Regions from separate parts of the Homo sapiens genome. Here regions 1 and 2 are each linked to region 3. Evidence: promoter capture Hi-C in 16 types of primary human blood cells and fetal thymus (Javierre and others, 2016). All regions are on one chromosome and are shown on one strand. The core of a region is centred on a gene start or on the middle of the fragment in contact, and the rest is flanking DNA. Distances in the headings are between cores, read along the strand shown. Region 1 overlaps CCDC88A (coiled-coil domain containing 88A). Region 2 overlaps PPP4R3B (protein phosphatase 4 regulatory subunit 3B). Region 3 holds the start of CFAP36 (cilia and flagella associated protein 36).

Region 1 (4,042 bases), core at 807-3,306, 120 kb before region 3:
TACAAAAAATTAGCCAGGCGTGGTGGCAGGCACCTGTAGTCCTAGCTACTCGGGAGGCTGAGGCAGGAGAATGGCATGAACCCGGGAGGCTGAGTTTGCAGTGAGCCGAGATCACGCCACTGCACTGCAGCCTGGGCAACGGAGCAAGACTCCATCTCAAAAAAAAAAAAAAAAAAAAAAAGGGTTTCAGCAATGTTTTTTCTAAAACCCGAGTGTACATCATATATCACTGTTTTACTGTATTGTTTGAGCATATTCCCAATTCTGTTTTCACATGAGTAATCAAACTAAAGATGATTAATTTCCTTCCCTCCTCCAGTTCACTGTGGTGATATTTTATTATAAACCTGGATATTTAAATCAAACAATAGGTACCTAAGAAAAAAAAATTTTTTTTGAGATGGAGTCTCGCTCTGTCACCCAGGCTGGAGCGCTGTGGCATGATCTCAGCTCAATGCAACCGCTCGCTGCCTCCTGGGTTCATGCAATTCTCCTGCCTCAGCCTCCCAAGTAGCTGGGATTACAGGCACCCACCACCACACCTGACTAATTTTTGTATTTTTAGGAGAGACGGGGTTTCACCATGTAGACCAGGCTGGTCTCGAACTCCTGGCCTCAAGTGATCCTCCCGCTTTGGCCTCCCAAAGTGCTGGGACAACAAGCGTAAGCCACCGTGTCCAACCTAAGAAAAATTTAATATTAGAACTAAAAATATATATAAATTTAAAAACTGTATTATTTGTAGTGCAAGCTCATTACTACATGACAATATACAATTTGGATTATACTAATTTGGATTATCCAAATGCATAATTTGGATAATCCAAATGCATAATTTGGATTATATTATACTTTGGATGCATAATATTCTAATGAACATATAGTAATATCATTATTTTAATACATTTTATAATGTAAATGCTATCTTTGTCCCTGACAGAGTTGTTGTCAAGTTTGTTTCCTTTAAAGTGATTTTTTTCAAAAAAAGTGTTAATGCTTCTTCTTAAATTTTGTGTCCAATATTCCTCACATGATATCTTGAAATGTATTCAGTTGTCAGGAAATTCTACAGTCGCTGCATACAGCTCTTTCAAGAATTAGCAAGTTTTCAGAATTTAGAATTTTGGTTTAATCAAAATCTTTTAAGAATTTTTTGTAAAAAAAATTAATGTTTTATATTAAGTTTTTTTAGACTTTGCAAAAGACTGCTTTTAACAATTAAAATAATTCTGGGTATAAAAGGAAGGAATTATATAGTTATATACTAATGATATCAGATGTAATTTTAGAAATCTGAAGAAAAATGAAAAATAAAATTTAAATATTTGAGAGAAAAGTACTTCAACACCTAAAATTAACCTCACAATCAAAAGGGATCTTAAAGATAGGTGAATGAAAATTTTTTATATCCCTTCACAAAACTGTGCTGCTTTGTGTCTACAAATCTATGAAATAAGTACGTGGGCTGTGAAGGGATTTCTATGCTCTGATTTGACTCTAGGAAAGCCAATAGAATAGCGGAGTTCTTGAACAGGCTAATACCTAAGCACCCCAAACCTCTATCTGTAACTTCTGTTCTACATTGTACCTACTCAAGAGTTATTTTAGTATGAAAACAGAACTGAAAAGTTCCTATTTCTTTATAATCATCAGATATTATATCATTATCTATTACTATAAACTATCTGTACTTAGAGCCCAGGATAACCATTAAGCACTCTCGGCATGGATCTAGAAAGCAATAAACTTCCCATTATAAGGCTTGAGTTTCCCATTTGATGCATGCCCAGTTTGAGTAAGGGCCATACTGACACATGTTAGGATCACGGAAAACAGGCCTTTTCACCCTAAGGATGTGATCTCTTTAGGTGAGAGGGACTGCCCTCAGGTGAAACTACCAGAAAAGTCCTAAGCTCCTGGGCTGGCAACGATGGCTTACGCCTGTAATCCCAGCACTTTGGAAGGCCAAAGCAAGAGGATTGTGTAAGCCCAGGAGTTCAAGACTACCCTGGGCAACACAGTGAAACCTCATCTCCACAAAAAAATTTAAAAATGAGGCAGGAAGATTGCTTGAGCCCAGGAGTTTGAGGCTGCAGTGGACTGTGATTATACCATCGCACTCCCACCTGGGTGACAGAGCAAGACCCTGCCTAACAAAAAAAAAAAGAAAGAAAGAAAAGTCCTAAGCTCCACCTCCATGAAAAATGGTTGACTCTTTAAGGGTAATTTATAGAAAATTATGCAAATCAAGAGAATTAGTAGCTTCGGAAAAATAATACCTGGCTTTGCAGTAAATATTATATAGTTATAATAATGTAAATACTGATGACTGATTTAACTAAACCTGTGTTAACTATATTAGAAAGATAGGGTAAGAAGAAATACAGGAGCATAAAAAAGATAAAATCTTATCTACCACTATCAGGAAGTCATAGACAATGTCTAAAAGGAATAAATCAAGAAATACCAGAATAGACACATTATCCCTATATATGGGCTAAATAACAGAAGAAATTGCTTTTAAAAAAGTTTAAAAAGCTGTCACTCTGGGCCAGGCACAGAGGCTCATGCCTGGGAGGTCAAGGCGGGTGGATCATGAGGTCAGGAGTTCAAGACCAGCCTGGCCAAGATGGTGAAACCCCGTCTCTACTAAAAATTAAAAAAAAAATTAGCTGGGCGTGGTGGTGGGTGCCTGTAATCCCAGTTATTCAGGAGGCTGAGGCAGAGAATTGCTTGAGCTGGGAGGCGGAGGTTGCAGTGAGCCGAGATTGCGCCACTGTACTCCAGCCTGGGCGACAGAATGAGACTCTGTCTCAAAAAAAAAAAAAAAAAAGTGGCACTCCAGAGAACTGAACTGAGATATGAGGAGAAATACAGCAGAGAATTTTTGTTTGTCACTGTGAACCTTTTGGTACTAATTAATTTTTTAAGCACGTAAAACATTTTTTAAGGACTTTTTATTGTTTCATGAAACCTATTTCATTTACCTGAGGGAAAAATATTAATAATTGTGTTGGATTGTTACTTAGCTGAAGCACATTTGATAAAGCTATCTCTGCATAGAATTCGATGTCAGGAATTCAGAGTCATAAGACATTTGTGAGACTAAGCATAAACCATAAGAAAAGAAAACAGTATTAAAAATTTCTTCTATAAAAAGAATGCATCCTATATAAAGACAGAAAAAACACTCATTCCTGTGTGTGTGTGTTTTTATCAGCTTCCTCAGGTTGAATCCTGTATTCTATTACTTTTAATATAATAAAAATCACAATACAGTAATTTAAACAAACAGTATGGTATGACTCCAGAATGCTCTAAAAAGAAATGTAGTCTATTAAGTATGACTCACAGAATTCTCTAAAGAGAAAATGTAGTCTATTAAATATTCCAAATATTCTGCCTTTCATTTTAATACTTAAAATGCAAAACAAAAATTAATTCAGAATAATCACAATTAATAAAGTTTTTATCAGGCTCTTTTTGAAAGCATACTATACCATTTTTTTCTAAAGAATGTATCTTTGGAAAGGCCGTTTTCTAAAATAAAAGATGAGCTACTGAACAATATACATGTGACATGTCAAACGTGAGCAAGTACCTTTCCAATCACACACAGCTATTTCCAAGGCAACACAATTTCAAGTCAACCATCTTCTTTATAAGATGAAAACTAAAAAAATGCTTTAGTGACAAATAGCCTAGCAATATGGCTCAAATCTGTCCAACCAGGAGTTAAATGCAACATGGCAGTAAAAGAGGGCCTCAAGCAATTTCACATTTATAAATGATCTACTTATGACAAGTTGCATTAATTTCAATTAAAATAATAAACGGACAGTAGTATTATCAACCACTGTATATAAAAATTTGTAAATCAGGAAAAAAGATGAAGTTAAAGTTAGCAATTTTGCAACGCTAATACTCTGAGATTTGGTCCTTGTATGATCAAGGATTATATCTTTACTTATTCATTAACTAATATATATAAGAAACAGAAATCTGATAGCTTTAATGGCTCTATGCTCTTCTCCTCCAGAAT
Region 2 (4,315 bases), core at 783-3,282, 72 kb after region 3:
AATATAGTCAAGTGGCCAGGCGCGGTGGCTCACGCCCGTAATCCCAGCACTTTGGAAGGCCGAGGCGGGCGGATCACGAGGTCATGAGATCGAGACCACCCTGGCTAACATGGTAAAACCCTGTCTCTACTAAAAATACAAAAAAATTAGCCAGGCATGGTGGTGGGCGCCTGTAGTGGCAGCTACCTGGGAGGCTGAGGCAGGAGAATGGCGTGAACCCGGGAGGGGGAGCTTGCAGTGAGCCGAGATTGTGCCACTGTATTCCAGCCTGGACAAAAGAGCGAGACTCCATCTCAAAAAAAAAAAAAATTATATATATATAAAAAATATATATAATTATATATATATTTATATATATATTTAATATATTATATATATATAATATATATATAGTCAAGCACGCATTTTTAAAAAATAAATTTGTGGGCCAGGTGTGGTGGCTCATGCGTGTAATCCCAGCACTTTGGGAGGCTGAGGCGGGGGGATCACCTGAGGTCGGAAGTTCCAGACCAGCTTGACCAACATGGAGAAACCCCGTCTCCACTAAAAATACAAAACTAGCCAGGCATGGTGGCACATGCCTGTAATCCTAGCTACTAGGGAGGCTGAGGCAGGAGAATCGCTTGAACCTGGGAGGCGGAGGTTGCAGTGAGCCGAGATTGCGCCATTGCAGTCCAGCCTGGGCAACAAGAGTGAAACTCCGTCTCAACAACAACAAAATAATAATAATAAATAAATTTGTTTGTCTAAAGTCTAGGAGTACCGGTTAGACTGTTAACTGTGGTTACTGCTTGCTGATAGGTTATGAGTGATTTTCTTTTTTGGTTATCTATATTTTCTAATTGGTGATAGGTTATGAGTGATTTTCTTTTTGGTTATCTATATTTTCTAATTTTCTACAATAAGCACAGACTAAATTACAAAGGAAAAAATGGGCAAAAATATTAAAATTCACCTTAGAGATTTCATCAAAATCTGCTAAAAAAACTGATGGAAATTGTTGGTGGTTTTAAGCTTCAGTTATCTTCAAAATTCATTTTTATGAAATGTAATTTCCATTAATTTAAAGTAACATGTTCTAAAAAAGTTTGTAACAATAGTATCTGTAGAGTTGATAGTAAAATAAAACCCTAACATTTAAAGGATACACCCCAACTACCTGTCCTTTTTCTTACTGAGGATCATCCATTAAATGGTATCAATCCCTTAAATCCTTTTTGAAATAACGTGGAACATGTATTTTTAAAAAATGAATAGAAACCACTAGGTACAATCAGAGAGTATAACATGCTCTTCTACTAAAAATCAATTGGTGCTACTCAAAGACAAGACACTGGGAGATGAATCACTTAATTAGTCTGACTCAGAATGTGTCTGAGTCATTTAATTAGTCTGACTCAGGTGTTTCTTTTCGTATTTCATTGACTCCTTTTGGACCTTATGCACTGCAGCCTGAACATCCATCTTTTGAGGGAGTTTATATGCATATGTAATCTTTTATTTAGCCCTCAAGTTAGTTTTTCCTTTTTTTTTTTTTCTAGAGTCTCACTCTGTTGCCCAGGCTGGAGTGCAGTGGTACAAACGTGGCTCAGTGTAGCCTCGACCTCCTGGACTCAAGCAATCTTCCTCCCTCAGACTCCCATGTAACAGAGACTGCGGGCACGTGCCACCATACCTGGCTATTTTTTTTTTAATTTTTTGTACAGATGGGGGGGTTTCACTTTGTTGCCCAGGCTGGTATCGAACTCCTGGCCTCAAGCAATCCTCCCACCTCAGCCTCCCAAAGTGCTAGGACTACAGGCATGAGCCACCATGCCCAGCCTACTTTTTCCAAATACTTTTAGTCTTAATATTTTAGGTTAGGGTGAGTAAGTACATATTTACCTCCATTCACACCTTTTATAAATTTCTATTTTCCTGCATCTGTTGTAGATTACATCTTCATCCTTTACTACCTGAAAATTTAATTTTTTCAAAATATTTTCATAAGAAAAAAGTTCCAACTCCTTGATAAATGCAATTTCCCACTTGAATTCTTCTTATATGATTCGGTACTTGTGAGCTGATAAGTAGAACTGCATAAAATATTACAGATAGAGGCAATCTCAATTATTACAGTCCATTAAGAGAATATGTATTCCTAGTATTTTTTCCCTGATTTCCAGCATTACTCTGGCTATTATTCATTAAGCTATAAAAGCACTCTGTTCCAATATATTTATGAAGGAAGCAAATAATCAATAACTTAAAGCCTATCATATAGTTGAAATACTTACTCCAAAATCTCTGGTTCTCCAAGTAATCAAACTAATCTCTTTTAGTTTTTCTTTTCTATTTGGTTTTAACAGCTTTTGTTTTAATAAAACCTATATATTTAAGTCAAAACTTGTGTGGCTGCTTTTCTGGACAACATAAAAAAACACTGTGGGGAAAAAAAGAGGTTGCTTCTAAACAGTCTAAATCAAACTCTTCTCTTTGCAGTAATATAAATACAGGCCAAACAAAAGAAAAAACAGAACCCATTCATTTTTAGAAACATATAAACACAGAAATTTAGAATTAAATCAGATTTTGCAACATTACAGAGACTGTCAAGTCCAATTTTAAATTTCAAGAGACTGAGGTTCAAAAAGTGAACCTTTCTGAGGGTAGCTAGTGACAGATGGATTTAGAATCCAGGCCTCCCAAATAATTAATGAGGTTTTTGTCACTCCTACTAAGTAAACCACAAGACAGGTTTCCAAGTATTTCAAACTTCAAACGTATGAATCAAACCAAAGCAAAAGATACACAAAGCTGGAATGGGCCAAATCTAGTAAGATAAAATTTAATATATTAAATCCTGTACTTGAATCCAAAGAAAAATCCTAAAAACAAAATGAAAAGCCCTATTACTCTAAACAGTTTTTTAAAGAGTATCTGAAGATTTTACATACTTAATCTGTAACTGGGATGGGAAGTTAGAAATTTTTCTCTTTCCGTGCCAAAACCTTAGCATCTGCAAAATATGTTAAAAAGAGAACTAAACCGCTAATCCTGCTGGGCTAATTTTAAGCTTAACTCTTACCTATGGAATAGCAGAAATATGTATATAATATAATATATGTAAATGTGTTAAAATGTCAACATTTGAGATTCCTATCCTCCATCATTTCTAGTAAGGAGAGAAATTAAAACTTTGTTCTGAAAAGGATCTTATTCTATAACTGTTTGTGCAGAAATAATCTCATTTTACTTGCTTTCAAAAATTTAATTTCTGGCTGGGGGCAGTGGCTCATGCCTGTAATCCCAGCACTTTGGTAGGCTGAGGCGGGTGGATCACCTGAGGTTGGGAGTTCAAGACCAGCCTGGCCAACATGGTGAAACTGTCTATACTAAAAATACAAAAATTAGCCAGGCATGGTGGCTGCTGCCTGTAATCCCAGCTCCCAGGAGGCTGAGGCTTGAGAATCACTTTAACCTGGGAGGCAGAGGCTGCAGTGAGCCAAGATGGCGCCACTGCACTCCAGCCTGGGTGACAGAGCGAGACTCTGTCTCAAAATAAATAAATAAATAATTTCTAAAATATTTTAAAAGAATGTTGCTCAATTCTGGGCACAGGGGATTTTGATCTGCAATTAGCTAGAACATTTGGAGTCACTAAAGTCTTATGTCCCTATCATGCTTAAGATATTGTCAACATGTATTAGCACACATACTAGGAGCCACTGACTATGCTAAGTACTCTCATATAATTTCTCAGTTAATTAACCTAATTTAAGCTAGGATTTATGATAAGGACCTTCGTACTACCTCACTTCGGCCCAGTTACATAAAATTCTTACATATTCACTTGCCTTCTACAACTCACACAGCAGCAAGTTAATGCGCATTTAAGAAACCACAGGTAAGTGTACTAGATACCCAGATAGGTATCTAGAAACACCTACTACCTAACCAAAAATTTCTACATGGAAATCTCAGAGTGAGACTTTAGGAAATAAGTGCTTAGAGGCCACTGTAGGGCCAGGTGTGGTGGTTCACATCTGTAATCCCAACACTTTGGAAGGCTGGGCACTAGGATTGCTTGAGGCCAGGTAAGAACAGTTTAGGCAACATAGCAAAACCCCACCTCTACAAAAAATAAAATAAAATAGAGACCACTGGCCACAATCTTATTTCTTTCCTTTTCACACATAGTTGAAAACACAATTCATACCCAAAGGAAAAAAAAGCATTATATTAAAAAGACACCTGCACTTGTATATTGATCGCAGCACTATTCATGATAGCAAAGTCATGGAACCCACCTAAGTGTCTACCAACAGATGATCAG
Region 3 (3,888 bases), core at 1-2,500:
AAAAAAAAAAAAAAAGGCACATAATGATCATCTTCATGCATTCAGGTAAGATACTGTGTGCACATTCACAAAATAAAAATAGACTAAAGGATGGTTTATGGAATACTATGCAGTTGCAAAGAAAGCACAAATTTATATTTTTAAAAGATAAAGATATAAGAAAAAAATTCATAACTGTACATATAATCCTATTTATGTAAAAAATATATATATATATATGGTTGTCTGAAGATATTTTGGGACTCCAAACACCTTCACAATGACCACTGAAGACCCCATTCCACAATGGACTCCACCTAAATGCTGAGTTGGAGTTATAATAAGATTTGGTTACCAAGGCATTTATTTAAGTGAGTATTAACTTTGCTCTTGCCCTTGAAAAGCTCCTAATTCTAGTTATCTTTATCCAAGCGTAAGAGATTAAAGACCCGCCTGAAGATACAGATGCAAACTGACCGTAAGACAATCAGCGAGTCTCACACAGCTCGGCTTTGTATTTTCAGACAACCCTTTAATTACAAACGCCTCTGGGCCAATGGTCTGAAAATGGTTGGGACTGAGGTGCTGGGGATACAATGATGAACTGCAGCCGCTGAAGCCCTGTCAGGTGGAGACCCGGTTACCTCAGACCCTCACTGAGCCTTTTCTTTTTTCTTTTCTTTCTTCCTGTTTTTCTTTTGAGACGCAGTCTCCCAGGCTGCAGTGCAGTGGCTCACTGCAACCTCGGCTTCCCGGGTTCAAGCGATTCTCCTGCCTCAGCCTCCCGAGTACCTGGGATTACAGGCGGCGCCACCACGCCAGGCTAATTTTTGTATTTTTGGTAGAGACGAGGTTTCACCATGTTGGCCAAGCTGGTCTCGACCTCCTGACCTCAGGTGATCCGCAAGCCTCGGCCTCCCAAAGTGCTGGAATTACAGGCGTGAGCCACCGCGCCCGTCTACTGCGCGTTTTCTAAACCTTGGCTCCTACGCATTTATCAGAAGAGAGAGCGCAATCTGTCTATGACTTCCAGCCAATAGCTACACTTCTTTTCTCAGCCCTCGTCCACTGTTCTTTTTTAACCAATCAGAAACGTTTTTCAAACGTTTGCCCTCCCCGCTAAGTGCGCAGGCTCCTGGAAAGTTGTCTTCACTTCCGGGCCGCGGTCTAGGGCGGCTACGTGTGTTGCCATAGCGACCATTTTGCATTAACTGGTTGGTAGCTTCTATCCTGGGGGCTGAGCGACTGCGGGCCAGCTCTTCCCCTACTCCCTCTCGGCTCCTTGTGGCCCAAAGGCCTAACCGGGGTCCGGCGGTCTGGCCTAGGGATCTTCCCCGTTGCCCCTTTGGGGCGGGATGGCTGCGGAAGAAGAAGACGAGGTGGAGTGGGTAGTGGAGAGCATCGCGGGGTTCCTGCGAGGCCCAGACTGGTCCATCCCCATCTTGGACTTTGTGGAACAGAAATGTGAAGGTAAAAACCAGAGCCCGAACCGACAATCCTTTTCTCCTCTCTCACACCAGCGGCGGGCAGGGGGTTGGTAACCACAAGCCATCTCTCGTCTCCCCGACCCCCTGTCTCCACCCCTGTCGCAAGGTCTCGTTCCCCTCACCACCTTCTCCACCCGCGTCATCAGGTTTAGAGCTGGTTGTGTGGGAGGAATTCCTTTCACCCTGCCAATGTGTTCCTTCGCAGACCTGAAAACGGGGACCGAGACTCCCCTTCTCTGGGGCCGAAGCGCACGTCCGAAGAACATTAGACTTGAATCGTAAATTCGGTCTCTCACCCTGTCCCGAACGTTTCTGCCCTCGGCAGGTGGACTGTTTGGCTGGGCTTCTTCAACAGCTTTGCCAGACTTGAGAGGAGAAGCGTCGGTTTACCTGAGTTCCTTATGATCCCTAGCATTTCGCCCGGTGTAGTCAGCTTAGGAAATGAGAAATGATTTCACTCCAAACCAACAGTTAACTGCAAAGGAGGGCATGTGATAACTCCAGGAAGCCCAGAGCCGGTGATTTTGGTGGCCTGTGTTCCCCTTGGTGAGCTCTCTACTCTTCGCTATACCAAAAATTGGCGAGGTGGGGCAGGACCATTCTTGGAACAAATGAGGCGTATAGATATGGCATAATATTCCCCGTGAAGGACAGGCATCTCCGGGTTCTGAGCAGTTCTTCAGGCTTGGAGTTCTGCATTCAGTTCGTGGAGACTATTTGCAGCCCATTCGCAGAAAAGGAACCAGAAACCACGTCATATAAATGAGTGCCCAAGCGTTATTGTGGTTGTTTAATCGGGCAAGACTTTGAGGGTAGTAGTATTCATCAATTATTTGAACATCTGCTTTGTGTTGTAAGGTTGAGTAGAATAGAGCTAGGGTCAGTTGGTACAAGCTACAGGGAAACAAATTTCAGTGAAGGAAGTGTTTCATGATAGAATGTATCCAAGATGAGTTAGCCAGCCTCAGAAGGTAATGAGCTTCCCGGCTCCAGCAGTGTTTGAATGGATCTGATAGCGACTTAATAGGGTTAGAGGGATTCAGCTATTCAGCTATCAAATGGTCGGTTATCCTGGATGACCTTTTAAGACTTCTTTAAATTCCAAGATATCATGAATCTGGTAAAGATGAAATTCAGTTTGACCACTGAATCTTTTCATTACATTTTCATTGCTATAATCAATATTCAAATCGTAGTTATTAAAGTGTTATTTTTACAGGTAATTTTTTAACAATGTTCAAAAACAAAATAACTTGTATTTGTACTCCTTTTTTTTTTTTTTTTTTGGGAGACAGAGTGTCGCTCTGTTGCCCAGGCTGGAGTGCAGTGGCGTGATCTTGGCTCACTGCATTGTTTTATACATATGATCATTCAGTAAACACTTGTTTTGATTTTATTTAACTTCATTATTTATCTGTGGTAACAAAAATTGCCTGGTCACTTTCAGTAACATTTACATCAGCAAAATTCCAGTACAATAAAATAATATGGAACCTATTGTAAAAGGATTTAACCATTAACAATAATATTACATTAAAAGTTATGAAGAAATTATTGCCTCATATTGATTGAAATGTGTTTTTGTCTTAAATATGAGGTAGTATTCATTTTAAATATTTTCTCAAGTAGGCAAAAAAGCTTGTTTACAATTAATAGTATATATGTGTGTGTGTGTGTGTGTGTGTGTGTATATTTTTTTTTCTTTTTTTTTTTTGAGATGGAGTCTCACTCTGCCGCCCAGGCTGGAGTGCAGTGGTGCAATCTTGGCTCACTGCAACCTCCGCCTCCTGGGTTCAAGCAATTCTCTTGCCTCAGCCTCCCGAGTAGCTGGGTCTACAGGCGCGCACAACCACGCCTGGCTGATTTTTGTATTTTTAGTAGAGATGGGATTTCACCACATCAGCCAGGCTGGTCTCGAACTCCTGATCGTAGGTGATCCACCCACCTTGGCCTCCGAAAGTGCTGGGATTACAGGCATGAGCCACAGTGCTCGGCCAATAGTATATATTTTTAGATATATTCATTTATATATTTTTAAAAGATAAACCCTAAGAATTCAAAGCTGAAGAGCTAGGTTGACAGTTCTATTTGGAAGGAGTGGATTTTTAAATTTGCATTAATAAAATGATTTGGTTTTTACACTATGTAATATTTTCTTTTAAATTTAGTTTTTGATGATGAAGAAGAAAGCAAATTGACCTATACAGAGATTCATCAGGAATACAAAGAACTAGTGAGTATTTTTTTTCACTGATTTTTAAAAGTAATTAGGCTAATACTACTTATAGCTTTTCTAAATGAAGAAAAATATTTTTACATTAAAAATCCTTAATTTTACAAAAATCCAATCTACCTTAACAATAGTGCCAGTTATATCTGTCTCCACAGGTGCTCTGAATATCTCATTTGGATGACTTATCTC

The links. The method cuts DNA at HindIII sites, captures the fragments that hold promoters and counts their contacts. A CHiCAGO score of 5 or more calls a contact.
Region 1: a contact is called between a fragment that was not itself captured here and the fragment with the promoter of CFAP36 in region 3, in 2 of 17 cell types (M1 macrophages and M2 macrophages). The highest score is 5.2, in M1 macrophages.
Region 2: a fragment that was not itself captured here is called in contact with the fragment with the promoter of CFAP36 in region 3 in 1 of 17 cell types (M1 macrophages); the score reaches 5.1 in M1 macrophages.

Annotation. Positions count from the first base shown.
Region 1 is chr2:55,396,712-55,400,753 of GRCh38, forward strand. All of the region lies in intron 2 of CCDC88A (coiled-coil domain containing 88A), which reads right to left. Among named protein-coding and RNA genes, the nearest start is that of CCDC88A, 21 kb to the right of the region's middle. The HindIII fragment of the contact is 5,201 bases long and covers 1-4,042 here.
Region 2 is chr2:55,589,621-55,593,935 of GRCh38, forward strand. The region is part of intron 4 of PPP4R3B (protein phosphatase 4 regulatory subunit 3B); the gene reads right to left. Among named protein-coding and RNA genes, the nearest start is that of PPP4R3B, 26 kb to the right of the region's middle. The HindIII fragment of the contact is 2,041 bases long and covers 1,013-3,053 here.
Region 3 is chr2:55,518,468-55,522,355 of GRCh38, forward strand. CFAP36 (cilia and flagella associated protein 36) reads left to right here and starts at 1,251. Exons shown (of 10, transcript NM_080667.7): 1 at 1,251-1,449; 2 at 3,635-3,699. The coding sequence starts at 1,335. RefSeq lists enhancers at 552-601, 1,782-2,031. The HindIII fragment of the contact is 7,670 bases long and covers 1-3,102 here.